Regions from separate parts of the Homo sapiens genome. Here regions 1, 3, 4, 5 and 6 are each linked to region 2. Evidence: promoter capture Hi-C in 16 types of primary human blood cells and fetal thymus (Javierre and others, 2016). All regions are on one chromosome and are shown on one strand. Each heading gives the region's core, a stretch centred on a gene start or on the middle of the fragment in contact. The rest is flanking DNA. Distances are from core to core; before and after follow the strand shown.

Evidence for each region. Contacts are between HindIII fragments. The CHiCAGO score rates a contact against its expected background, and 5 or more counts as called.
Region 1: a contact is called between a fragment that was not itself captured here and the fragment with the promoter of SOWAHB in region 2, in 2 of 17 cell types (M2 macrophages and endothelial precursors). The highest score is 6.4, in M2 macrophages.
Region 3: a contact is called between a fragment that was not itself captured here and the fragment with the promoter of SOWAHB in region 2, in 3 of 17 cell types (megakaryocytes, endothelial precursors and M2 macrophages). The highest score is 6.3, in megakaryocytes.
Region 4: a contact is called between a fragment that was not itself captured here and the fragment with the promoter of SOWAHB in region 2, in 2 of 17 cell types (M1 macrophages and M2 macrophages). The highest score is 5.6, in M1 macrophages.
Region 5: a contact is called between a fragment that was not itself captured here and the fragment with the promoter of SOWAHB in region 2, in 1 of 17 cell types (M1 macrophages). The highest score is 6.6, in M1 macrophages.
Region 6: a contact is called between a fragment that was not itself captured here and the fragment with the promoter of SOWAHB in region 2, in 1 of 17 cell types (activated CD4 T cells). The highest score is 5.6, in activated CD4 T cells.

The regions. Positions count from the first base shown.
Region 1 is chr4:76,515,784-76,519,980 of GRCh38, forward strand. All of the region lies in intron 1 of SHROOM3 (shroom family member 3), which reads left to right. Among named protein-coding and RNA genes, the nearest start is that of MIR4450, 56 kb to the right of the region's middle. The HindIII fragment of the contact is 936 bases long and covers 1,117-2,052 here.
Region 2 is chr4:76,895,036-76,899,408 of GRCh38, forward strand. SOWAHB (sosondowah ankyrin repeat domain family member B) reads right to left here and starts at 3,109. Exons shown (of 1, transcript NM_001029870.3): 1 at 1-3,109. The coding sequence starts at 2,814. The coding sequence ends at 433. RefSeq lists silencers at 2,460-2,569, 2,830-3,129, 3,200-3,269. The HindIII fragment of the contact is 5,905 bases long and covers 1,004-4,373 here.
Region 3 is chr4:76,488,526-76,493,351 of GRCh38, forward strand. All of the region lies in intron 1 of SHROOM3 (shroom family member 3), which reads left to right. Among named protein-coding and RNA genes, the nearest start is that of SHROOM3, 56 kb to the left of the region's middle. The HindIII fragment of the contact is 1,115 bases long and covers 2,902-4,016 here.
Region 4 is chr4:76,536,817-76,541,120 of GRCh38, forward strand. All of the region lies in intron 1 of SHROOM3 (shroom family member 3), which reads left to right. Among named protein-coding and RNA genes, the nearest start is that of MIR4450, 35 kb to the right of the region's middle. The HindIII fragment of the contact is 1,427 bases long and covers 2,222-3,648 here.
Region 5 is chr4:76,447,127-76,451,492 of GRCh38, forward strand. All of the region lies in intron 1 of SHROOM3 (shroom family member 3), which reads left to right. Among named protein-coding and RNA genes, the nearest start is that of SHROOM3, 14 kb to the left of the region's middle. The HindIII fragment of the contact is 2,133 bases long and covers 274-2,406 here.
Region 6 is chr4:77,204,261-77,208,527 of GRCh38, forward strand. No RefSeq gene overlaps it. Among named protein-coding and RNA genes, the nearest start is that of CCNG2, 49 kb to the left of the region's middle. The HindIII fragment of the contact is 1,618 bases long and covers 1,869-3,486 here.

The DNA of each region.
Region 1 (4,197 bases), core at 335-2,834, 380 kb before region 2:
ATTTAAAGTCATGTTGAGAAGTCATGTAGGTGGTCTTTCTTCTAAGCTAGGACAGACTTATCAGTCTCACTTGCCTGGTACTACTTTATGAGGTAAATAATTAATTTGAGATATTAGGCATAAGCTGGTCTTGATCTGTTCTCAAACTCCAGGTGGGTAGAAAGCTCAACTGTTGACACAGGGCCTGGCATGGGAAATGATTACATGGGAAGCCATGTCTGATAACCAGAAATGATACTTCATAATAACACAAAGATAATGAGAGAGATTGGGAGTCAGGTTAGTGTGTGAAACTAGCAGTAGACCGAGAGGGAAAGTGGGTTGTGATCCTTCTTTGAAGTCACCACAGAGTCTTTCTGCTCCTTCACCCACTATGGTTAGTGAATGACCAAGGATACTGACTTTACCTCCTACTATTACTCAAATGTATATCTCTTCTCCGTCATTTCTCCTGTTCAGTTCCTCTTTCTCTCTAGCCTGGTCAATTGCAATATCTTTGTAACATGTTTTCTAGACTGTAATATTGCTCCTATTATCCATCCTTCCAACTAGGAAAGTAATATTCCTGAAGTCCAAATCATGCCATGTCCCTACCTTATTAGTTCTCTGTGTTGAGATCAGATGAAGCTATAGGCAGAGATGCTCTTATGACATGAAGGACTGGGGTTCCCTTGTAAGACCATCAGAATTTGCCCTATCTAAGCCCCTACTCAGGAGCCTAGAGGAATCCCTGAACTGAATGGTCTGAGTCAGCTGATACTCTCAGATAACAGCACTTTGCTCATAATATATGAAAACAGGAGCATGATTTAGAAAAAAAAAAGGAACCAAAATCACCAGCTAATAGATATTATGCAATAAGCACATTACAGAAACACAAAGTCCTGGTGTACATCACCAGGGCAGTCCCTGAGGACAGTCTAGCCAATAACTACACTTAAGTTGGGTCTCCAGATCTGATTTTCTAAGTTTCTGATCCTGGATCCTTTCATAAATTATAGCTGCTACCTCCAATCCCACCCCAAGTCTCATGAACAGGAAATCTGTGAAAAAGTTTTACAGGGAGGTTTGAGAACTCCCTCTGAGCTAGCCAATCCAGAGTCTTGCTTTCAGCCAAGCTTCCATCATACCCAGATTTTAATGATGAGTTATTTATGTTCTCACTTAAGGAAATCCTTTCCTACCCTTTGGAACTTCTATTTATCTTGTTATTAAAACTGTCTTCAAATAGATTTCCTGCTGCAATACAACACACTTGGTGACTTTCTCAGTCTTACAATGGGATTAGATATTTAGTGCTGAAAGGATCATTGCAAGGAGAGCAATCAGGTTTCTTCTCAGTGACAACTGCTTGGTCTTCTTTGCTGTAAAAGAACTTTGCTTTGAGCTTTGATACATGGAAAATGTCTGCCAGAGGCCCTGGTGAGAAAGAGTCCGTGTGTCTGCCCATCTTGGGTCATACCCTTGTCATCCAGGAACTAACAAGTCACCCCAGTTTACATGCAGTTGGCATTGGATGGGTGTAGGCAAATCACCTGGACTATCAAAGATACAGTGTCTAAAAAAGGCTCACTTCCTCCCTATCCCAGGTGGTAACACTGCATCGCAAGTACAGGGCATCCCAAATACAGAACATCCCTAACCCTGCATGCCCAGGGCACTGTTCTCAGCTCTGCTGGTCTGACCAGGTAGTTTCACAGAATTCTTGCTTGGTTAACTTGTAGTTTTTTGACATGATGTGCTAGATAGGTAAGATTTAGGATTCTTATCCATGTAAATGAAACTTAAAAAGAATTTCTCCTGATTGAGTTGCTTAGGGTTTTTGTTTGTTTGTTTGGTATATATATATATATATATAAAGGGGATGTTAGGGCTGTAGTCAGTGGCTGATTATTTGAAAATTTCTTCAACAATATGGGTTCTGTTCTGCTAATTCTCAGACCAATGAGGGCCTGTGTATGCTAGCAGAGAGAGGAAAAGACTAGGGTTTTCAGATTAGGACTCTGGGCCAGAATTTGTTACCATGTGACCTTGGACCACTCATTTAACCAAAGCTTCCCAGCCATTCCCCGTGGAAAGGAAGTGGATTGAATGACCTCCCGGTAGCCTCACCGGGATATTGCGGCTGCAGCAGAGCAAGGGCTGCATATAGAAGAGGAACATGAAGACTTTTTCCTTACAAAGTAAATGATATGAATTGACTGTGGTAAAGTTTCTAAATCAGATTTTTTTTAGTCCAGAGGGACAGCTTTTAAAATGAGAGATTTATTTAAGTTATAAGGAAATATCTGTCAACCCTCAGAAATTGCAAGATGATTATTTTGGTTGTGTGTGTGTATGTGTGTGTGTATTCCTAGTGGAGGGTGAGAGCTTGACTCTTAAGAATCATATAAAATATCAAATTATCTCAACTTCTGATAAATAGGGGGAAAGACAGACATTTTGGGGAGGTTCAAACCTCTATAATTCTTTAGGCATTTAACCCCCCAAGAGCAGGGACTACATTTATTCATTCGTAGTGTCCTCCACTCCATATCAGCATCTGGCACCTAATATGCACTCCATAAATCTTTGTTGTGGTTGAATGAGATCATTTTCCCCATGTCTTTGAAAGACAGAGGCAAAAACAGAGTGTTCTCATTAATGGACAGGGTTTTATTTCATTTTCTTTCCCCTCCCCCCTCCTTCCTTTTTGCCTGTCTGCCTGCCTGCCTTCCTTCCTTCCTTCTTTCCTTCCTTCCTACCTTCCTTCCTTCCTACCTTCTTCCTTCCTTCCTTCCTTCTTGCCTGCTTGCCTGCCTGCCTGCCTGCCTGTGTTAAATAATCTGAATGATTTCAAAGAATCAAAAATGGCTGTTCACATTTGGTAGGGTTCTACGGAGCTTATCTAACATATTTCTAAATGAGTACTGTAACACATCTGGGGCCAGGCACCCAAGCCTGTTCCTGTGTACTCTCTCATTTGCCTAGAAAACATAAATACTGATACAGGTCAGGGAAGCAAACTCTTGAGGGCTGTATTAAAATTCTTTTTATTGCAAGCGATGTAAACTCAATGAAGCAAAAAGAAGATATTTATTGAACCAGTACAAAAAGCGCAAGGGCATAGAGATTACATACCCTAGAGATCACTGGAAGTGGAACAAGAATGGAGCTAGGAGTCTCCTTCTCCTAACACTGCCTCTCTCTGCTTGTTTTCTTCATTCACACCACAGTCTGGGTACACAGCTGGTGAAGCCTCAAGATGCGGCATAGCCTTGCCCTTGGAAGAGAACTGAGAGCTACTCTCTGGTTGTAAGTGAAGAAATCCCAGCAAAGGCTTCTGGTTGGTTAGGCTTAGGCCACATGCCCACCTGGGTGGCCAGTGAAACACTATGGTTGGGAAAACCTTAGAATCACTGACTGTAGACGGGAGGGCTATTCCCTTAAAGGAGGGATGCCTTTCCTAGAAAGGAGGGTGCTGGATAAACAAAGTGCATCTCTAGGGGTCAGGGAGTAGTCATAGAAACTATGGACCAAAAGATAGCATTTGCTGACCAAGAGGCCCCAGTTTACTCCTAAATGTTCAGAGGGTGCATTTAACTTCAGTGACTTCAATCAATTCTGTAAATTTTGGTAAACAGAAAAAAGCAGAAGAAATAGACAAAATAGAAAAATAACAATATAAATTATGCAATCAATTCAGCCTGATAGTCTACTCACTGAGTATATGTCCTAAAGCAAGAATCAGGAAGATAATGAATCGCAGTTGGTCTCATTTCCCCCCAGAACAAACATCTTTTCCTTTATCTAGTACTGAACCAGAAAAGTAGAGGGCCGTTCCAGTGCTGGAGGGAAACTGTGCTGGGCTTATGAAGAGGCAGGTGCCAAAATAGTGCCTTCCTAGAAGATTTTTCAGGACAGTCTTGACTATATGTGATTTTCACTGTATACACTGATGAATTTTAGAATTTAAACATCCATAAAACACGGTGCCTTTTAGGCTTTTTGTATGTGCATCTGGGTGTATTATTCAGAATGAAATCTCTTTACTGAATCTTTCCTATTTATGAGAATTGGGTGGAAATGATCAGGACAACTAATGAGTGGATTTGTGAGGTGTGAGGTGTGACAATATTGTAACGGAAGATTTTGTGTTGAGCTTCTTGTGTTTTAATCATTTCTTGAAATTCTGCTTGATGCTTTAATGGATGTATT
Region 2 (4,373 bases), core at 1,859-4,358:
ATGAACAGAAGCCAGAGAGCTACTAGCCAGAGAGGATTTTAATTGTGCTTCATCAATTCCTCGAATTGCTTCTCTTTTTGTTAGACATCTGTTCCCTCTCTAGCCAAGGCCTGGGACTCCTGCTTCAGGAAACAATATGGCTTACTGTGCCCAGCTCCATGGTGGCAAGGGAAGAGGAAGAATGCCTCCTAGATATCAAGCACCTGGCCCCGCCTCTTGTCTAGGTTTCTCCAGTCAAGGAGTTCAGCTTTCAAAAAGCTTGGATGACCCTCTTGAGGTCCAGGATGTAGTGACATAAGATCCAGGGAGGTCAACACCATCTCACTCGACCATCCTCTTTACCAACTCTCAGCAGCTTTTCTATTCCCCCTGAATTCTCTCACTGAGCAGGATGAGGGAGTGCTGCCTGCATGTTGGACAGAGAGACCCACCTCAGTCACTATACTCTTCTCTTTCCCTTGGACTGTGGAATTTCTCATACTGGTTGGCCAGTTTCCACTTGTTGTGCTGACTTTTGAGTAGTGCAGCGAAGGAAGTTTTTCGGGTGACACTTCTAGATATTTCCTTGCTCTTGGCCTTTCTGGTAGGGGAAGAACTTCCAACTAAGGGATAGACAGGGAAAATGGGCTTGCCCCGAGGAGCTCCCAACAGCTGCCATATTTCCCCAGAGGTATTACTGGTTAGATACTGCCATGGCTTCTTCCCACTGCTGTCCCTGACATTTACCCGAGAAGCCAACCTTTGCACTAGCAATTTGATGACCCCCTGGTGGCCGTGAATGGCTGCAAGGTGCAGCGGGGTATATCCACAACTGGACCTCACGTTTACATCAAGGACAATCCCTGCCTTCTTTGCTCCAGACACCAAGTCCTGAAGGGCCCTGAGGTCACCATGTTTGGCTATCCAGTGCAACGCAGTGTACCCAGTCAAAAAGTCTTTGTGCAAGGCCAGTTGAGGGTCCTCCCAGAACAAAGTCCACACCTGAATCCAGGAGCCACTGGCAAGCTTCACAATCCACTCATGCTCCCTGGCATCTAGTGGAACCAGGGATGATTTGTGCTCAGAAGTTCTGTGGGGGGCCAAGGCTGCAGACCCCTCCCCACTGGGGACCCACAGGCTGTGTCGCCAACCCCGCTCGGCCACAACAGCCTTAACCTCTGCAAGTTTTAGTGATAAACCTGCATCAACCCTTGGGCTGGGTGCCGTTCCTGCCTTGGAGGGCTTCCTGGATCGAGGTGGGCGCCGACTTCTTTTCAGCAAGCCCTCATCGAGGTACTCCTCATCAGAGGAGGACAATTTGGCTCTCCCTGCCAGAGAGCTCCTCCTGAGGGACCTCCTTAACTTAGGAACTGGCCAAGGCAAAGGCTTCAGGGGGTGGCCTGCAAGGCCATTAGCCCCTGCAGGGACCTGCTGAGAGATGTGACCATCCCCTCTGTTTCTGAGACCCTGAGGGCTCCGGCTGGGGCTGCCCTCCTTCCGAGATACAGAAAGGCCCCCAGCTGGATTCCTGAGCTTCCCCCTATCTGGGGTTCCCAAGACAACCTGCAGCCCCTCTTCAGAAGCCCCCGGGGAGTCTTTGGGCCCACTGCTGCTCTCCTCACTGCCATCACTCTCCTGGTCCACAAAGTCATCCAGATCTTGGAGGGACAGCTGACAACGAATGCTGCGAAAGACAGTCAATGAAGGGTTCCCCGCCCAGGATTCCCAGGACTCATCCGGAACAACAGGAAAGAGAGAGTGCGAGGAAAGACAGGGGTCTGGCGGCTCTGAATTAGGCTCCGTGGAGCCGGGTTCCAAGGGCAGCTGGAGGAAGTTGTCTGGCAGCACCGACCAGGCGCGGATAGGGCCCTGATCACGGGCCTCGGGCACCTGCGGGTGCCTGGCCACCCACTCTCGAGTGCGCTGCTGCTGCTGCTGCAGGGTCGAATAATGCAGGGAGCTGGGGGTCAGCAGCTCCGGCCGGTCTCCGCGGGGAGCGGGGCCGGGCAGGAGAGCAGGCGGGGAAGCCCTGCTTGTCGCAGCCTCGACGGTGGCGGGAGGCGAGTGAGCCACTGCAGGCACAGGCGCCGGCTCAGCTAGCGCGCCTTCTTCCCGCTCCCTGGAAGCCCCGCGGTCATCCTGGGCAGGCAGAGCCCGTGCCGGCTTCTCCTCCGCGGTGGCCGAGTGCGGGAGTGCGCCGAGCTCTCCCGGCAGTACAGCCAGGTTGTTCTGGAGGCATTCCCAGCAGCAGCGGCCCTGCGTCTTCGCCGCCGCGCAGCTCGCTCTCGCCTGGGCCCCTGCCGCTGCAGCTGCGGGCACCGGCGGCCTCTGTCCGGGACTGCCCTTCGATCCGCCGCCCTTCCCGGGCGCCCTACGGGAGTCGCTGCCCGGGAGTCCATTGCAAGCTGCGTCGGCGGCTCTGGCTGCTGCACCTGCTGGCTCCTCCTCCGGCTCCTTCTCGCGCCGCCGCCGCCTGGGCTGCTGCTGGGGCGGCTCCCCCCGGCGCGCGCCTCGCGGGGAGCAGGGCGCAGCTCCCCCTGCACTGGGGGCGGCCGCGGGCGGCTCGCGGGGTCGCTGCAGCCCCTCCTCCCCCAAAAGGTCCCTGTATCTCCTCTTGAGCACCACGTACTTGGTGCCGTCGGGGTCCTGGCGCACTGCGGCGACCGAGTTGACGAAGCCCTTGAAGAGCTCGCGGCGGTGCTGGTGCTGGCTGGGGGACGCGTCGGGGTCTCGGAGAAAGCTCTTGAAGTGGCTCAGCAAGGCAGCGTTGGTCACGCGGCCCCCAGCCTGGCACAGAAAGTCCAGTAGTGCCTCCTGGCTCAGCTCTCGGGCCATCGCTGCCTTGTCCTCCGCCCCAGAGGTGTCTGAGTCTCGCCCTCCCGGGGCTCTCCCCAGCCAGAGGAAACCCTGGCCGGGCGAGTGTCACCTGCGCCCGGGGCGGCACTAGCCGCCCCCATCAGCCGCGGAGGCCAGCGCTGCCCGCAGCCCGTGAGCGCGCCAGGAGGGCCGTGGGTCCCCTCCGGGTGGCCCCAAGGCTGAGTCCCCGCGGCAGTCTGCGTGAGAGAGGGCGGCTCCGAGGCCGCCCCTGCGCGACTCTAGCCTCTCGCAACGAGTCCTCACAGCGAAAGTTCCCGGGATAGGGCCGAGTCGGTTTCACCTGCGCCCTGGCGGCACCTCCTCCCTGCCTCTGGGGGAAGGGTCAGGCCCGCCTCCTCGTGTCCCTCCGCCCCCTGAGGTCTCCCCCACCCCCTGCCACCCATCCCAGAAGAGTCAGGCCGGAGAGCCAGCCGGTAGGTGAGGTTGGCGGCGAACCGAGCCGGCAGCGAACTGCTCTGCGGCCGGGGAAGTGGAAGGCAGGTAGGCGACCGGCCGTTCCTCTAAGTCTCCGCCACGCAGGAAACAAAAGCGATAGAAGGTCCGTTCCTGTCCTCCGGTGCTTTGATGAGTTCAGGCTGAAGCCGATGGGGGAGGAGGAGAAGCTGCAAGTTAACAGGCAATCTGAGTTATCTTTCTTTATTAACGCTGTAGAGGAGTACTTCAGATTTCTCGAGGCTGTATTGAGGTCCGCAAAACTCACTTTGCATCCAAACTAAATTTTTCTTAATATAGAAATACTTTCTGGGCCGCTTCTCCGGCGCCCCCTCCAAGGGGTCCGAATACATCCAAGTCTATACTGAAAAGAGAAATCACTCTGAAAATTACTACTGGGCAATATTGGTTTGGGACTTTTTCTTTCATACTTGTCTTTCCTTCATACTTGTCTCACATTAAGGTGCTGGAAAAAAAAAATCACTTTGATAGCTTCTTGCCCCCGGCGGCTAAAATGAACTAGGAATTATGTCTCGCCAGTTAAGGTATTTGATGTGTAGCATTAGTTTGCTTTTATTTACTCTAAAATTTGTGAACAGCAGAGATTTGTACAGTGTTTTGTATTGGCTTGGTGAAGTGCTTCCTTTCAGAATGTAAGGTTCAAAATGCAGACTAGAGCTGTCTTTAACAGCACCTTTTCCCCCTAACAGCTGGGATCCCTCTTCCTTTTTCTCTCTCCACATGTTGACCCTTCTGTCTTTGATGTGAGATCCTGGATGTCCCTCACTGTTCCTTATCAGTCCTGTTGACATGCCTGAGATAGTTTTCACTGTCATTATCTCTTTACCTGTTTTAGTTCCAAGCCTTCTCTCATTCTTTTCTTTAACTTGGCCTTCCCATTTCTTTCTGTTACACGACATCCTTGTTTACCTTCGGCCTCTACTGACAGGAAATATGTCTGTTTCTCAGATCCTCTCATGTCCACTGTATTTCCCATTCAAAAACCTCGATTTTCTCCTTCCCTGTAATTTGCCTCTCTTTTCTCATGGACTCTTCTCATCTTTTCACTTTTCCTTTTGCTCTTC
Region 3 (4,826 bases), core at 2,209-4,708, 410 kb before region 2:
ATTTCTGTTGGCCAGATTTCTTGAGAATGTGATAAAGCATTAGCCCCACCATTTCCAGCATCCTCCATTTAATTCTTCTTAGACTCTTTTCCACAGAATGAAATTGATTGATTCATGGCTGAGGGTTTGAAAAGAGAGCCTTGGGGAAAATTTTAAGAAGTGTTCCAGGAGGCCATAAAGACTGTTGACAGGTGGCCAAGCCCAGGAAAAAAGTATTAGTAATAACAACAGCTCACCCTACATAGCTCTTAATCATATGTCAGGCAGTGCACTAAACACGTTACATGTACTAACTCATGTGATTCTCACAACAATCCTATGAGGTCAAAACTTGTTTTTATCCCCAATTTAGATGAAGGAATTAGGGCACAAATAGGTTAAGGCAATTGTTCAAGGTCACACAGCCACAATGTGAGCCCAGGTGGTCTAGTTCCAGAGTCAGTACTAACCACTAAGTGTGCAGATTACTAGAAACTTGGAGACACTCCAACTCCTGAATATGGTGCCTAGCCAGGGCTCTGGAGGAAGCAGGCAGGGCAGGGCCCAGGTCCCTGCCAGCACTTTGCCAAAATGAACTGGTGAACTGAGGCACTGTCATGACCTTTGCTGCTTGAATAATTTCAGACGGCAAAAGAAGCCCAGTCATGTGAAATTCCTTTGTGGCTAGAAGATGTCAACAGGCACAGATCTAGCTCATCTTTCAAGATATGCAATTTTTTTTCTTAACAGAATGAATGCTCCTGTATATAATATTGTCCTTTATGGTGGCTGGTTCATAGAAACTGACAAAGAAGTCAAATTAAGAGCAGTTAAAAGTTAAAGATGTAAAAGTTAAGTCACAAGACCCAAGTAGAGTGAGAAGAAGGTAATTTGTGTGTCTGTTTAATCCCTGGCATGACCTTTAATCTCTGCTACTTAAAAATTACAGATGCAATCTTAACTATGGCATAATGAAACAAAGACCACCACTTCTTTTTTCTTTCTGCTTTTTGAAGTTGCGCAGATGTCAGAGGAAGATAAATAAATACTGTTAACAGCTTCTGGAAGCATAATGTGCTTTGAAAGAGTGAGTCAAAGCTCGAGCCAGGGTTTATGGCCTCAGCAAGTCGAGGTTTTCCTGATGACAAAATGAGGCCTTGGGGTTTTGGAGGAAGCTTTCTTGAAGAATGAGCACAGCCAAGAATGGTGCTACACTTGGGACTCTCCTTTGTCAATAGAAAAAGACAAAGGACCCGTTTATAAAATGGATATCAAGTAGCAGATTAGAGGGACATAGTTGTGTCACCGGTATGATGGTCGTAACTGCAAGTTGTCCAGGTTCTTGGTGTTTTGAACAAAGAATTGGACAAAACGCCCAGCAAAGCAAAGAAAGAATGAGGCAACAAAAGAACAAAAGCAGGGATTTATTGAAAACGAAAGTACCCTCCACAGTGTGGGGGCGGGCTGAGCAGCAGCTCAAGGGCCTGGATATAGAATCTTCTTGGGTCCAAATACTCCCTAGAAGTTTCCCATTGGCCACTTCATGCTCACTTCATGTAAATGAAGTGGTAGCATGCAATCAGTCTGATTGGTTACAGAAAGCCAACCAGAGGCTGAAGTGAAGTTACAAAGGTCACACTCCTGTGCAAACATCTGGTTGGTTGCAAAAAGCAACCAATCAGAGGCTAGAGTGAAGTTACAAAGTTATACTTCTATGAAAAGGAAGACTTAGCCGGCAATCAGTCTGACTGGTTGTGGACAGCAACCATTCAGAGGCTGGAGTGGAGTTACAAAATTACAAATGAAGACTTGACCGGCAATCAGTCTGATTTGTTGTGGACAGCCAGTTTCCCATCTGACATGCAGAAAAGGCAGGGGGTTTGCAAAGGGAGTAGCTTCTGGTCTTTTTGTATTTTTTTTTCTTTTTTTTAGTAGAGACGGGAGTTTTCACCATGTTAGCCAGGATGGTCTCAATCTCCTGACCTCGTGATCTGCCTGTCTCGGCCTGTCAAAGTGCTGGGATTACAGGTGTGAGCCACCGCACCCGGCTGCTTCTGGTCCTTTTATTACTTAGGCATGAAAAGTTAGGGTTTTCCTTTCAATTTAGTCCTAGGAAGTTGGCGTGAAACAGCCTTAGGTTCCCTGCCTCCAGACCCTATTCTCCTGCCTCAGTTGAATTGTATTTCAGCAATTGAAATCAGCTAATCGAGGACAGACACCTCATATATGTTACCCACCTACTCTCCCTAATATGTAGAATGCCTATATATAAAAATAATAGCAAGAAACAATAATTACAACTTATTGACACCATGTGTGCCCTGTACTAGCATCACCTCCATTTTATGTGGGAAAGAACTGTGTTGGAGGGTGAAGTCACTAGCCCATATTACACAAGTCTTTTAACTACAGAGTCAGCTTTCTTAACCACTGGAGCCCATTGGGGTTGGAATAAGGCTTTGGAATATCTTCTGGGGTTAACGGGGGAATTCTTGAAAGTTTTCTCAATAGGAAAGTCACGAAAAAGTGGTATCGCTGCTGGAAGGCAGGATGGTTTGGCAACTTTTGAACTGTGGTCTGACTGTGAAGTGATAAGAGTCTGAATTAATATGCTCAATTAGAGTCAAAAGGAGAGGCAAGATGGAAGACTCCCTGAGAAGGAATGGGTGATCCTTGAGACATGGGCACTGACCAGATGTGGGAATTAGGGAAAGGAGGGAGTCAAAGATGAATCCAAGATCTCCAGAGTAGTGTTAGAATGCTTGTGCCATGAATAGAAATGGGGAAATAGGAGATTAAGCCAATTTGGAAAGACTTCTTGGCCTGTGTTGGTGGCAGGGCACTGCCCCACAAAGCATACTGGTTAGTGGGAAATGTGGCAGCTCTTTCTTCATTGTCAGAGCCTTTGTTTTACTACACAGAAGCTTAAAACGCTGGATGCTTGCTTTCCTAGACTCCCTTGCATGTGACTGAGATCCAGTCATGAGGCACAGGTGGATACTTATTGGAAAGATTTTTCTCTCTGATAATAAAAAGTCTAGCAAGAAAAACCTCTTCCTGCTTTGGGTTTCAAATGCAAGGATACCATGATGTCATGCGAGGAGCTGCTGCAGCCATTTTGCAGTCTTGAGGGACAGACCAAGAAAATTAGGGGAAGCTGACTCAGAGCCCTGACACTGGGGAGCCCCTGAAACAACACCAGGACCGTCTGCCTCTCTTATGTGAAAAAAGCACCCCCCAACCCTGGTCAAGCCATTTTTAGATGAGTTATTTTGTGATTTGCAGCCAGAGCATCCAAATTGATGCAGACTTTGTGCAGGTCACAGATCACCTTGATCTGAGCTTTGCTGTGTTTTCTATTTTGGATATTAATTTTGGAAAAACACCATGTGGGAAATGATCATCACAATTGCCCACTGAAGCCTCCAAAATAGTAAGAGTTCCAGAAAGAGAGAGAGAGAATGCACTTTGGATACCATTTCTAGAAAATGAGGGCTTTTTAACAAAAGTCTGTAAAGGCCGAACAGCCTGGCCCAGATCTTAGGCCCGCTTTGCTGCTAGGTGAGAGCCTCTGTTAGGTTTCAATAGTGCAATGTGCTTCTCAAATGACAACGGGGCCCATTAGTAAATTAAACATTCCCATAGCCCCTAGATACAAACTGGGCGAAAGAAGTATTTTCCGTTTTCAGAACTGCTGCTCTTTTCATTTGCTTCTTCCCACCTTCCTTGACATTTGCTGGTGTCTGCTGCCAGGAAGGCATGTTTAGCTCAGTGATGGATGTGCACTAATGAGAATTAGCCTGCTTTGTGGAGCTTTTGAATCAGAGCAAGTATGCTGTTCTGAAGGGCTGAATGACTGGTTGATTGAAAAGTAATTGATTGCAGAATTTCAAAATGAGATTCAAAAGGTACATTACAAACTAGATTTCACAAAAGCCAACTTTCTTTGTCATGTTCTTCTTTTCGGTCATTTTATCCTTTTTAAGTTTACAAAATTATTTTAGAATTTAGTACCAACTTCACCATCTGATTCCTGAAGCTTGGGGTATTATATACATATAAAGTTTATGATAAATTCTCATGATAAGGAAAAAAAACCCTATGCTACATAGATTCTAGTCCTGACTCCGCATTAATAACTGCCACTCAGGGAAAATTGTTTAACTTTTCTGAGCTCCCATTGTTGTTGATAAAAATGTTTGAATAAATCATGCATGAGATCCTATACACGTGAACTTAGACTTTCTATGGTAAGACACAGATTCTCATATTCTACATGGTATTGGGCTGGGGGTCTTCCCTATGCTCCTCTCTGAGAAAACACTCCTGCAGACAGAGAGCAGGCAAAGAAGCCTCTTGCTAGAGGAGTAATCTCAACAAAATTTGGTTTTGATCGTGGGATTCTGGGTGGAGATGCTAGATAAAAGATGATGCAGTTGGGCACGGTGGCTCACGTCTATAATCCTAGCACTTTGGGAGGCCAAGGTGGGTGAATCACCTGAGGTCAGGAGTTCGACACCAACCTGACCAGCATGGTGAAACCCCATCTCTACTAAAAATACAAAAATTAGCTGGCCATGGTGGTGGGTGTCTGTAATCTCAGCTACTCGGGAGGCTGAGGCAGGAGAATTGCTTGAACTCGAGAGGCGGCGGTTGCAGTGAGCCAAGATCGTGCCACTGCACTCCAGCCTGGGCAGCAACAGGAGTGAAACTCCATCTCAAAAAAAAAAAAAAAAAAAAAAAATGCCTAGTTACATTTGAATTTCAGATAAACAAGGATTTTATTTTTAGTATAAGTATGTCCCAAACATTGCATGTGGTATATTTATACTAAAACATTATTCATT
Region 4 (4,304 bases), core at 1,685-4,184, 360 kb before region 2:
AATAATGCAGGCAAGGCTGGGCGTGATGGCTCACACCTGTAATCCCAGCACTTTGGGAGGCTGAGGTGGGCAGATCACCTGAGGTCAGGAGTTTGAGACCAGCCTGGCAAACATGGTGAAACCCCATCTGTACTAAAAATACAAAAATTACCCAGGTGTGGTGGCAGGAGCCTGTAATCCCAGCTACTCGGGAGGCTGAGGCAGGAGAATCACTTGAACCCGAGAGCCAGAAGTTGCAGTGAGCCGAGATCGCACCACTGTACTCCAGCCTGGGTGACAGAGCGAGACTCCATCTCAAAAATAATAATAATAATGCAAGCAACATGAAAGAGAAAAGGAAGTGAGCCATGTAGCTACTGAGAGGGAGGTATTTCAAAGAAAGAGCTCATCAAGTGCAAAGACCACACAGTAGATGTGTACATGGACATTTCAGAAAATCTCAAGGAAGCCAGGGTGGCTGAAGTAGACCAATCCCAAGGAAGTATGGTAGGAGAAGAGGTCTAGGAGATCCAGAGGGGCAGAGTGTATGATTGCCTAGGGCCTTGAAGGCCAGTAAAAGTACTTGAGCTTTTACTCTAAGTGGGTTGGGGAGCTGCTAGATGGTTCTAAACTGAGGAGTGATGTGTTTTGAAATGATTCTCCTGACTGCTATGTTGAGAATATGTTATAGGGCAAGGATGTGGAATGAGGAGGAGAGGGACACATAGGCAGAACAGGGACACCAGTTAGGATCCCACTAAATAACCCAGGCAGGAGGTCAGAGTAGGTCAGTAGCAGTGTAGGTCATGAGAAGTCATTAGAAAAGGTAGAGCAATTTAGGCTTTGCTGATGGGTTCAATATATAATGTGAGAGAGATCCCTTTAAGATTTTTGGTGTTTATGAAGGTGCTTTTTAGTGTAGGTAGTTGTTAAATTGGTGCCCTCACAGGGGGCATTGGGGGATGATGGGTGGAGCCTTCTATTCTGCCGCCTTGCTCCACCCCAAGTCAGTAGTGTTTTTTTAGGGCATGATAAATTGAATATTCTAAAGGTGATTATGGTGATGGTTCTACAACTCTGTGAATATACTAAAAACCATTTAATTGTACATTTTATCTTATTTTATTTTTGAGACGGAGTCTCCCTCTGTTGCCCAGGCTGGAGTGCAGTGGCATGATCTCTGCTCACTGCAACCTCTGCCTCCTAGATTCAAGCAATTTTCCTGCCTCAGCCTCCTGAGTAGTTGGGATTACAGGCATGCACCACCACTCCCAGCTAATTTTCATATTTTTAGTAGAGCCAGGGTTTCACCAGGCTGGTCTCGAACTCTTGACCTCAGGTGATCTGCCCGCCTGAGCCTCCCAAAGTGCTGGGATTACAGGCGTGAGCCACTGCAACCAGCCTGAATTGTACATTTTAAAAGGGGAAACTTTATGGTATGTAAATTACATCTCAATAAAGCTGTTGGAAAAAAAGAAAAGGAGGAGGTGGTCAGAGACTGAGATGCTTAAAATTGAGATTAGGGAAGATTTCCACATTGGCAATAACAAGAGCTAGAGTCTGACCATGGAAGTTGAGTAGCCAAGATGGCTTGGAGGAGGAGTCAAGGAAGACAGAGGCCCAAGTACTGGAAGGACATCTGTGAGGATATGGGTGTCACTAAGAATGGTGGCAAAAGTCATGTTGGTGAGAGGTCTGACAGTGAGCTGGGGGGAAAATCTTCACCAAGTCAGGAGTGACCTGAGAGTTTGCAGATGACTACAACAAGGAAGCATGGCAGGTAGGAATCTGATAGCAGGATGTTCCAACTGGGTGTGGGTAGAAAAAATGTTCTGAAATTTGAATATTGGTGAAGGACTTAAAAAAAACTTCAAGTATTAAGGGCCTACTCTACTTTTCCTTTATTAATTAATTCATTCATGCAACATGTATTTGTTCTTTTGGGGACACCATTATCTACTCATTTGGCCATATCTGCAGATGCTCCCAAACATGGTGGAGCTGGCTTTTGATGGCCAGAATCCCAGATTCTGTTATAATAATCTCCTTTCAATGAGTTCCCCAAGGACCTATTACCCACTAGTATAGTGGAGGGCTGTTCTGATCAGTATGCAGCCTTTCCTTGATCACTGTCATCATATTGGCCATCATTGTTTAGTTACACTAATATAGTATATGGCTTTATGTTTCTTAGGCTGTAGGGAGCTGCCTGTTTTAGAATTAGATGGAAGAAGTTGTGATAAGCTTTGCCTTTGGACAGATCTGGGTTTAAATCTTAGCTCTGCTATTTATAACTTCATAACTTCGGGAAACTTAATATTGCTGAGTCTTAGTTTCTTATCTACAAAATATTTACCTCATAAATATTGGTGAGAATTAAATAACATGTGTGTGTCAAACTCCAAACAGATAGTAGGCACAACCAGAGATGTTAGTTCTCTTTCCTTTCCCTTGTTTTCCTTCCTTCACCTTTATGTTAATGTTGCTTCTGCTATTTTATTTCTAGCTTCTATCATGTCCAGGGTCTGGGTTCTGATCAGAAGCCTTCCTCTAGGGATGGTTGAAATTATCAAGCCAACTTCCAGATTGGCATAGAGTCACTCTGATTGTTTACTTTAGTGTGCCATGTTATGCTTCTCAAGGTGTTTTATAAAATGTTTCTAATCTTACTCTTTAATACTGTGAGGTATATAAGTGAGGCATTAGTATTCCTAATTTATGGAAGAGAATATAAGATACTGAAAGTAGCTAACATTTATTGGGCATTTATTAAATATCATTTTTCTAAATGTTTTACATCCATTAACTAACTTAATCCTCGCAGCAATTCTATGAAATAGGTATTATTAACTTTATCTCACAGGAAGGGAAACAGGCACAGAGAGGTCAAATAATGTGTTGAAGGTCACATAACTTCTAAGCATGGGGGCCAGATTTGAACCCAGGCAGTCTGGTTACAAAACTTAACCAATATATGGCCTCTAATGTAAGACAAGTAAACAAATTGTGTGGGGGTTGCAAGTGAAGAAATCCTTTTACCAGTTACTGCTCAGGTATCTTTCTGGCCTCTGAGATGGAGTTTCGCTCTTTCACCCAGGCTGGAGTGCAGTGGTTCAATCTCAGCTCACTGCAACTTCCATCTTCCGGGTTCAAGCCATTCTTCTGCCTCAGCCTTCCAAGTAGCTGGTATTACAGGGGTGCGGCACCATGCCCGGCTAATTTTCGTATTTTTAGCTGAGACAGGGTTTCGCCATGTTGGCCTGGCTGGTCTTGAACTCCTGACCTGAGGTGATCCACCCACTTCAGACTCCCAAAATGCTGGGATTACAGGCGTGAGCCACAGCACCCGGCCTGGCCTCTGGAATCTGATGGAGATGGAAAATGTTGGTAGCTCACTGTGGTCACTAATAGAACACTATTGTTATCTTCAGCAGGAGGGAGGCATTCCATACCTCCTGCATGAGTTTTATTACCCTGTTTCCTTCTAGCTCAGCCACCCTTGAGAATTCTTTTGCTGAGACAAACAAGACAATCCCTCTGAGATAGTAGCAATAATTGCCACCCTTGTCCTATTTTAGTTCTGCTTGTTGCAAGCCAAGTTCTAATATTAAAGCCAGTACTAAAAAATCATAAACTTTCTCAATATCATAAGTCTAAACACGTAGGGGAAGCTTTGGAAAACTTTAGGAAACAAATAATTCATGAGGTCAAAATCAATCTCATAATGAACAAGTAGATTTTTTTCTTTGGAAGCGGAAGAATATCTGGCCTAAGATCGAACCATTGGACACTCATGAAACTTATCTTAGAACAGTGAAACTATCTAGTCAGTCACATTGTGGATTATTTACTAAGTGCTAGAAATCTCATAGTTAAAGCATTTCATCAGGAGTAGATGATCAAATATTTAAAATATCAAGAGATTTGTTATTTTTCTTCTTGCTGGCACTGATTTAGTTTCTAACCACTAGAATTTCTCCCAGACCAGGAGTAGGGAAAAAAAGAGAAGAGAAAACTAAAGCCTAACTATTTTAGTATGTTAATAACTTTGATATGAATCTGATGAAGAAAGAGTTGAAAATTATTAGCTAAAATGAGATAGGGCATGTGTGTGCCTATATGTATATTTAACTATTGCCCTGTGAGCCCTATTCTATTTGAATTGGCAATAAAAAGTGGACTTACCTTATATACTTGTAAAATGCATGAAATACATATACAATTTGTTGACTTATTTATTTTCTAAAGACTCAGTCTCTCCACTGATGTAGTTACTGAAAAGAAGTTCTCTTTTCCTTATTTGTAAAACGTTTTACATATACATC
Region 5 (4,366 bases), core at 90-2,589, 450 kb before region 2:
AACCTGGTACAGACAGATCCTAGTATTCTAAAGATCTCAAAATTTAAAAATCATTGTGACATGAATTTGAAGTCAAAACCCAGGCAATTTAAGTGGAAATAAGCATTCTTCAGGTTAGTCAAAGTGCTTAGCACTTTGTATATTAAAGTGTATCCTGAGCCACACATTTGCTAGAAGGTAAGAAGAAAAATTGGACTCTAGAATCAATTGCCTTTCTCTTTTCCTTTGAAAAGTTAAAATTTTTAATGAAAGAAGTTGTGTGGGTACAATGTAAGCTTTTATCATCTTGCATGTGTCCTCTGAGAGGTTCACATTTTTGAGGCCTTGTCTCATGGAAACTGGGAAATGAGCTTCTGGAATTCAGACCCAGGATCTGGCTGCATTCCAGAAATAAATATACATGTTGGGCGTTGAGATAGACAATTAAAAGAATAGGAGAGTGTGCAAACTTTTGAGAATGAGAAGGCAGAAAATAGACTCTTTTCTCTCATGCTTTGCTTTTGCTTTTGTTTATTTTTTATATTTTTACTTTTGAGTATCAGCTAGTGAGTAGCAGGGCAAAAACAAGGCAGCCATTGATCTAAGTGTAAGGCAGCAGGAGGAAGGTTAAGAGAATGAGTGTTATTCTTTAGGACTACATTCATAGTTGCATGGTGTTGCTCTTGGCTCAAAGTCTACAATTAAATCAGTTGTTGGCACTCCCTTGAAAGCATTACTATCACAGTTTCCCCTACATATGTAAGTCAATAAATTTGACCTTTAAGAAGGACAGTTGGTGTAGACCCCCTCCACTGGGCCAACACATATTGCAAATTTCTGAACTCAGGCCCTGCAAAGTACTACTGCCACCTTGCTTCTTTAACAGAGAAGGCAAAATAAACAGAGGAGGATTCCATGGTATAAAAAAGAAAAAAATACATTATTTATATTTAAATAAATAAAATTATTTATAGAGCATTATTTATATGTGTCAGTCTGCTGTGGGTCAGGTACTATGTTAGATTCTTTTATTTATTATTTTGTGGAATGAGATTTGTTTTTATATATGAGGAAAGAGGTTTTTCATAAAAGATGGAGCCAAGATTTAAAGCTAACTCATTTCATTCATTAGTTATCATATTTAGTCAACACATCATTTATTGAGTGCCTAAAATCTGACAGCACTGGGAAACAACAGAAGATGAGGTCACTGCACCCTAAAGGAGCATGTTCTCGTTTTTTCTTCTTATACCACTGCAACTGACCCGTCCACATTTCCTCACCTTCATTTCTGTGTGCATTGGCTGGACTTCCAGCTGTCAGCATCTGCAATTCTTTGCTTGGAAGCCCTTTGCCACAGTAATGACACCAAGAGCAACCCTCCATGACCAACTGGAGTTGGTACGTAAGCAGCTTAGTTCTTTCATCTCTCAGATGGGATGACTCTAAGGTGTATGTTTTCCACTAGCACCTAGAATTTCTTCAGAATCCAACTCCAGTTGCCCACAGTTGTAGCTGGCTTGATCAAACATCTATGTCAGCTGCCTTCCCTTTTCTACCTCATGTTCCCACTTCCTTGTCAGCTTTCTTTACCCCCAGGTAAACTACTTGCATTTGAAGTCTTGTCTCAGGGTCTGTTTCTGAGGAAATCCAAACTAAGATGACCACCATTTAGAGAATGCTTACTAAGGGATAGCCAGACCCTAAAGACTAATGTAGATCTATCTGTTTCCAAAATCTGTGATCTTTGGAGCATTGCACTGTACTATGGAATTCAAGCGGAAGGAATCCCATAGAATCTTACACTTAATCTTTTCTTGGGTACTAAGGAAAGTGGAAATCCATCCCTAGACAGGATATTTTGTAGTTCTCTCTTTCGGTCTTCACCCTCTCATGGGATGGGTGTGTTTTCTCTTTTCTCCACAGAATTGACTGAAAAGTCTCATTCTGCTTTTATCATCACTTCATTTCTCTGAATGAATCAAGCATCTCTGAATGAAATCAAGATTTTCTCCCTCCCGTCTGAGAGTAGGATCCACTCTCTTGTTCTATAGGTTCTCTTTTGTTCTATAGGTTAAGGGTTAAGGAAAATGTGACCCCCTTGAACAGAATAGATAGAGAAAATTATTCATTTGGGGATCTCTGAGGAGAGAAATTCTTTTCTAGAATTTTATTTATATTGCTTCTTTTCTTACTCAACTTATACTACAACATAGACTAAAAAGAAAAGTGGATACATAACTGTTTTTTTAAGTCCAGAATATTTGACAATATAATGTGGTAATGGTGTGAAGTTTTACACCTAAGCAGGCAATAGAATATGACACAGTTTCCGACCTACCCTGCCCTTGAAATAACAGAATAACTTTTTAACACTAACATGCGTTTCCTTGAATAACTTGTACCTCTGCCAAATTCCACACAAGAAGCTTCTTTTCTTCAGGGGCTGCTTCCCCACAATGTGAATATTCTTTGACTCACTATGTTGTCCATTTCCAATTTCCTTGTTTTTTGCTTGAGTTCACTGAAGACTGACAAACAGTAGCTTCACGTGACAGCCATTAGTCTGCTTTAAACCTCAGCTTGATCTTGAATGGATAGAATAATGAATAGATTTTGTGTCATATAATTCATGTTGTCAGTTATATGAAATTGGCAGTTAAAGAGAAACTAAATATGCTTCCAGTCCTCTCTTTTCTAAATTCATATTTGAATATAATAATGTGAAAGGCATTGTTCCTTCTTTTAGTTAAAGCATTTTTGTAGCAGTCTGAACTGTGAATAATAGAGAAACATATGCTCTATTAAAAAATAGAAGGTGAGGAAGATAAGTGTTTTACTCTTTGTATTAAGAATTAACAAGTGGTTTTAAAAATTGAGCTTGTATGTGTGTGTGAGCACAGGGAGGGGTATTTCATCATAATGAGGGAGGCCTTGGCAACTTAGTGTTCGTTTTAACTCCATTGATTGCCGAACACATTCATGCCTGCTCTAGCTCCAGGGAGGCTGTGGAACAGGAAATAAGAGATTCAAAAAGCAGCACAGAAGAAAATCATCTCCTCTCCTTCCATCTCCCAAGCAGAGAAAAATATGCTTTCTTTTTTGTCAAAATTGCTTGGTTTGTCCTATTATGCTGTCATTTCAGAGAGATTAAAAGTATACTTTTTCATACATTGCAAGTGGGAATGTAAAATGGTGCAGCCACTTTGGAGAAACAGATGGCCATTTCTTAAAATATTAAACATAGAGTTACCATATCACCCAACAGTTCTACTCTGAAGTATATACCCAGCAGAAATAAAAACATATATCTGTACAGAGACTCATACTCAAATGTTCATAGCCTCATTGTTCACAATTTTTCATAAATAGAAAAAATCCAAATGCCCATCAACTGAATAAACAAAATGTGGTATAGCCATATAATGGAATACTATTTGGCAATAAGAAGGAACTGAGTTACAACATGTATGAACTTTGAAAATATTATGCTCAGTGAAAGACACCAGACACAAAGGAACATATTTAACTCCACATATATGAGATACCCAGAAAAGGCAATTCTAAAGGGACAGAAAGTAGATGAAAGATTGCCTAAGGCTATGGATAGGAATAGAGAGTGACTATAAATGGGTACAAGGTTTCTTTTTGAAATAATGGAAATGTTCTGAAACTAGGTGTTCTGAAAGTAGATAGTTGCCAACTCTGTAAATATAGTAAAAATCAATGAATCATAAAGAAAAACACTACTTCTATTCTGGTAACAAAAATTAGAAGAACAAAAAAAGACAGAAATTATAGTAAACCACAAAGTAAATTATTACCCACCATGTTAACCATTTAGTATTGATTTTTTTTTTTTTGAGATGGAGTTTAGATCTTTTGCACAGGCTGGAGTGAAGTGGCACAATCTTGGCTCACAGCAACCTCTGCCCCTGGGTTCACGCCATTCTCCTGCCTCAGCCTCCTGAGTAGCTGGGATTACAGGCACCTGCCACCATGCCTGGCTAATTTTTGTATTTTTAGTAAAGATGGGGCTTCGCCATGTTGGCCAGACTGGTCTTGAACTCCTGACCTCAGATGATCCACCTGCCTCAGCCTCCCAAAGTGCTGGGATTACAGATGTGAGCCACTGCACTCAGCCAGTATTGATTTAATTAACTGAAATTTAATATAGTAGAGGAAAATAACCAAAATGAAGCTCTAAAGCATGTCACAGAGTCCTAATTATTCAAAGAATCATAAAGATGTGATTTACACCATTCAATAAACTGCAAAAAATTTGTGCAGAATCAAAGAAAGCAGGCACAACAACGTATATTCTTAATTATTTCATTTATATAAATTTTTAAAACCAGTCATTGGTGAAAGAAATCAGACCAATCAT
Region 6 (4,267 bases), core at 1,428-3,927, 310 kb after region 2:
ATTTGGTTCTGATCTGCCATGGACCAATACTTTGTAAAACACAATAAATAGAAAATGCCAAATTTTGTTAAACCCACACCCTAGCAAACAAAGGGGAAGAAATACATGGTTCGTTGGAAGAACATACAGGTGACAGGTGACGACTACAAATGTACAATGATAGTTATCTAGAGGTAACTGAGGTACATGTTAATGTTCTTGTACAGAATGACTATTGTGCATATAGTGCTTAATGTACTGAGTTCTTCATGTGACAAATAAGCTTGTTTAACCTACTGAATCTAGGTTGGAGTGATAGCAATGCTACTCAGAGGAAAACAACCAAAAGGCTTTGTTTTAATAGCTTTCACAGCAGAGGCCAATCTCACATCCCTCAGAAGTATGTTGACCAGAACAGAAGAATTTAAAGCTATTGTAGCAGAATTGGGGTATATTTAACTTTTAAAATGAAGTAATGCTTTATTTTAAACTCATCTCTAATCCTTCATCACCATCTAGTTACAATGGCTTATCTTAGAAGGCTACAGTTATCTTCCTGAAAAGCAAATGGATTCCAGATGTGAATTTTTCCTATACATAAATCTTTTGATGGAAAGCAAAATCCAATGTTCTAATTCAAAAGGTATGTCTTGTAGATGTGCAATATCAACTACTGATTTATACCATGTGAAGTTATGTAACTTCTATTTTTGAAACACTTAAGTTATCTAGTCTCTGCTTTTCTCTATCTCTTCAATATTACCCAAGGGAAAAGAACCTGGATGGGTTAATGAGACTAGGAACAACTCATGGCACATATGTAGTTAACCCTTCTAGAGAGAACTGCCCTCATGAGTTTTATGGTACTTGTTTTACTTCATGAATGTATATGGAAGGATTGCTCACTGAGTGGGCTTACGTTACTCAATGGTAGAAGACTTGCTCAGCCTAGTTCGGGGGCCCACTTCCAGCTTTGGTCCTCTGATTCAGTGAAACAAAGCTTGTCTGATCTTGATTTCAGGTGTAGTTCCCAATTACTTTCAGAACCCCATGGGGAAAGTGAGGTGAATGGTACCTCAGACACTTAAGCCCTGAATTTCTATGGCAGTCTTGCTGTGGCACACTACCTGCATATTGCTGATGGCCTCATATCCAGGGCTCCACACTGGCATGTAAAAGGTACAGGCCAGTCTGAGGGTCTTCAAAGGCTTTCTAGGTTCCCTGAAAGTGTGGCATTAGGAGCAACAGGATCAGACTCCCCCCGCCCCCAGCCGCCCCCTCCTCCCCTACCCCGCCACGGAGAGGAGTACCACTATCAGGGCAAGACAAACGTGGAACTCGGCCAGGTCCTGCTCCGTATGGAAGTGAGTGTCTTGGGCAGTGGGGTCTCAGAAGCTGTTTGATAGAATCTCTAGGTAAGCCTCTCCTCCCACACATGCTAGTTTGGCACACAATGGTCCTGACTTCCTGAGACAGATGAGTGTCTATAATTTTGGTCTAATGAGAAGGTCCTGGGACATTAAGCATCTTCAGGTTTCACAGTGAGAATTGCAGATGGTGTTCACAGCTTTCCCATACAATACTGAAGTCATTTGTCTAGATGTACTGAGTCCAAACTAGGGATTGCTTGAAGGAAAGACTTTCTCTAAGGTCTTCATTTCGTTTGGTGGGAATGTCAGATTGGGTGGGTTACACTAAGGGAAGAAATGAACTGCTTCTAGCAATACCTCTGTGGTGAAGTCTGGGGAGGAGAAATTAGAGTGGCAAGATAACAGATAGTTGGAAGTCTCTCACTGCTTTCCCGGAAGAAGTAGCAAACATTTTGAGGGGTGAGAGGAACTTCCCAGCACAGGGTTAGAGGAGCTCTTAAACACAGGTAAATTTCAGGAAGCTTTGTGAATTTGACTATGGGGCTGTGGCTGGATTCTTGCTCAGCTCCAATCTTAAATAGAAGGCAACCCTTTACCAGTAGGATCTAGGGAATTTTGGCCAACTTTGTCAATTCTGACCCTGAGCATAATTTTGGGGGGGGTTTCCAAGGTATATGGATGAGTCTGCCTTGGATTAGATTCTGCATCTCGGCCTGTGGTTAGGGGAGTGCTGAATGTAGGCCTGGGGAATGCATTTAAAGGCAATCAATACTAGCAGGGGTAGGAAGAACAACTTCTATGGTGTCAGTTTGGATCCTTTGTAGTTAAGTGCAAGAGACTCAGTGGGGGTAATACTTGGGGTGGGGGGTGGAAGGGAGTTGGAATAGGAGCAGCAAGGGAGAATCTTCAGGTCTTACAGGTGTAACACCTGTGCAAGGAACCAGGGAAGGGAAGAACAGGTAGAGCCCCTGCCCTGCAATATGGGTCTGCAATAGTCTCAGCCAGGTCAAGTAAGTTCAGTACCTTTTCCAAGATGGACCCTTCCTGGTGGGTGTTAATGTGAGACACACAGCTCCACACTTCATACATAGCCTTACTATGTCCATCCACATTCCTCTACCCAAATCTTGTCTCTGACCGTTCAGTCCTTTGTTCCAGGCTGCTGACTGGAAAGTGATGCCATTGAACCACCTATGTATATGTGCATTCTCATCTTGGGCCCTTTGTGATACAAAGTAGCTGACCAGGTATACTGCTTGTGGAACCCGACCCGTTGGGAACCAGGCCAGACACTTGGTTGAACTTGTAGTGCTTTAATTATCCTCTAGTATCTAATTTCGTCATGGGCTAGAATGCAGAATTGAACAGATAAGGACCACCAACCATATTTGCTTGATACTTAAGCATGGCACTAATGTTGACCATCCCCTACAGGGGTGCAATACTTGTGACTTAATATCTTGGCTGGGGTAGGGACAGTTTCAGAAGTTTCTAACTGGCCCTGCTGTGATGCTGTTACTTCACATGGCTAGGGACCCAACGTAGGGATTTATTCAAATGACAAGCACATCAATTTCAATTGTGTACTCAGGGGAAATATTTCTGGGTGGGTCTTCGGACCTAGTGGACCAACTGTCAGCCAAACATCTGCAAGAACTCCATTTCCTCAGTCTGTACTAGGGTATAATTTAAAGCTGCAATCTATTTCTCAAATGGAAGATAGTTGTAACTCCTGTGTGTGTGTACTTTAACTTGTGGCCATAATGCTCTGGGTGTCTAGATGGCAATGTCAACTCAGTTGCTATGCCCGATGGTTCACGAATTCTTTAGTTCAGTGTATATTAACATGGATGTCTGCAGAGGGAGACTTGCTAAGAACCCTTGTCTGCTCAGCTAACCAGGTCCTCCAGCTATATCTCAAGGTCTTGACATGAGAACCCCTGCTTCTGGGAGCACCGGAAGGTAGAACTGTATCTGAGTAACTTCAGTGTGGCAATAACAATCTGGTTAACCCTAAAGGTGTTCCCAAAGTTGGTAATGGGAGGTAGGGTCAGGGAATGAAAGCATAAAGTAAACCTTACTGCTGCTCTGTGAAAGGGGAAGTCTAGAAAAAGCATCGTCCGTATACATGGAACAAAGCTTAAGAAAACTTGCAGCTTGGTTTTGCCAGTACCAAGCTGAGGGAGGGGAGCAGATTCTTACAAGAGTGTCAGCACTTACCTAATGGGTCAGGGAAGACACTGCGTAGTGTTATACAAGACAGTAACATGGTCAGACTGGTATGTTCAACATAGCAACATCTCAAGTAGGAAAACTGACTTTGGGGATTGGAATAGGTGTCATAAGAGTGGGTAGTAATAGACATGATCAGCTTCCAGGCTTCTGGTATGGGCACTGCTGTGTGGTAGTGCCACTAATAGAGGATACAATAGAAGAACAAATCTGGGAGGGGAAAAGTGAGTTGTTACTGTCCTACCTAACCTTAGGATTTAGATCTGGTATAAACCTAGCTTATGATGGGGAGCTCCAGTTTGGGATATTACTTGGTGCGAAATGTTCAGGACTCAGTCTCCCCTGGGGTCTAATAGTTTTAAGTCATGGCCTATTTCTCAAATGCAGAATAGTTCTGTCATAGATCGTGCCTTGCAGTAGAAACCTAGGGTTTTATGTTTGGATTTTCCAGAGGTGTCATGTGGCATCTTCATGCATCACAATTACTTCCAGCACCATGTTAGATCACCTAGCCCAAGCAGTAGGGCACCTTTATGCTGCAACCTGCAACTACTACAGGTATGCTTTTCTCCTGAACTTAAGGATCAGTAAGCTCACTAGATGGTTTTAGAACCATGGCACTTCTCAAGGTATGGACAACATTCTCAGGATGTACCCCTTGTATGGTGCCCTGCTCCTCATGAAGA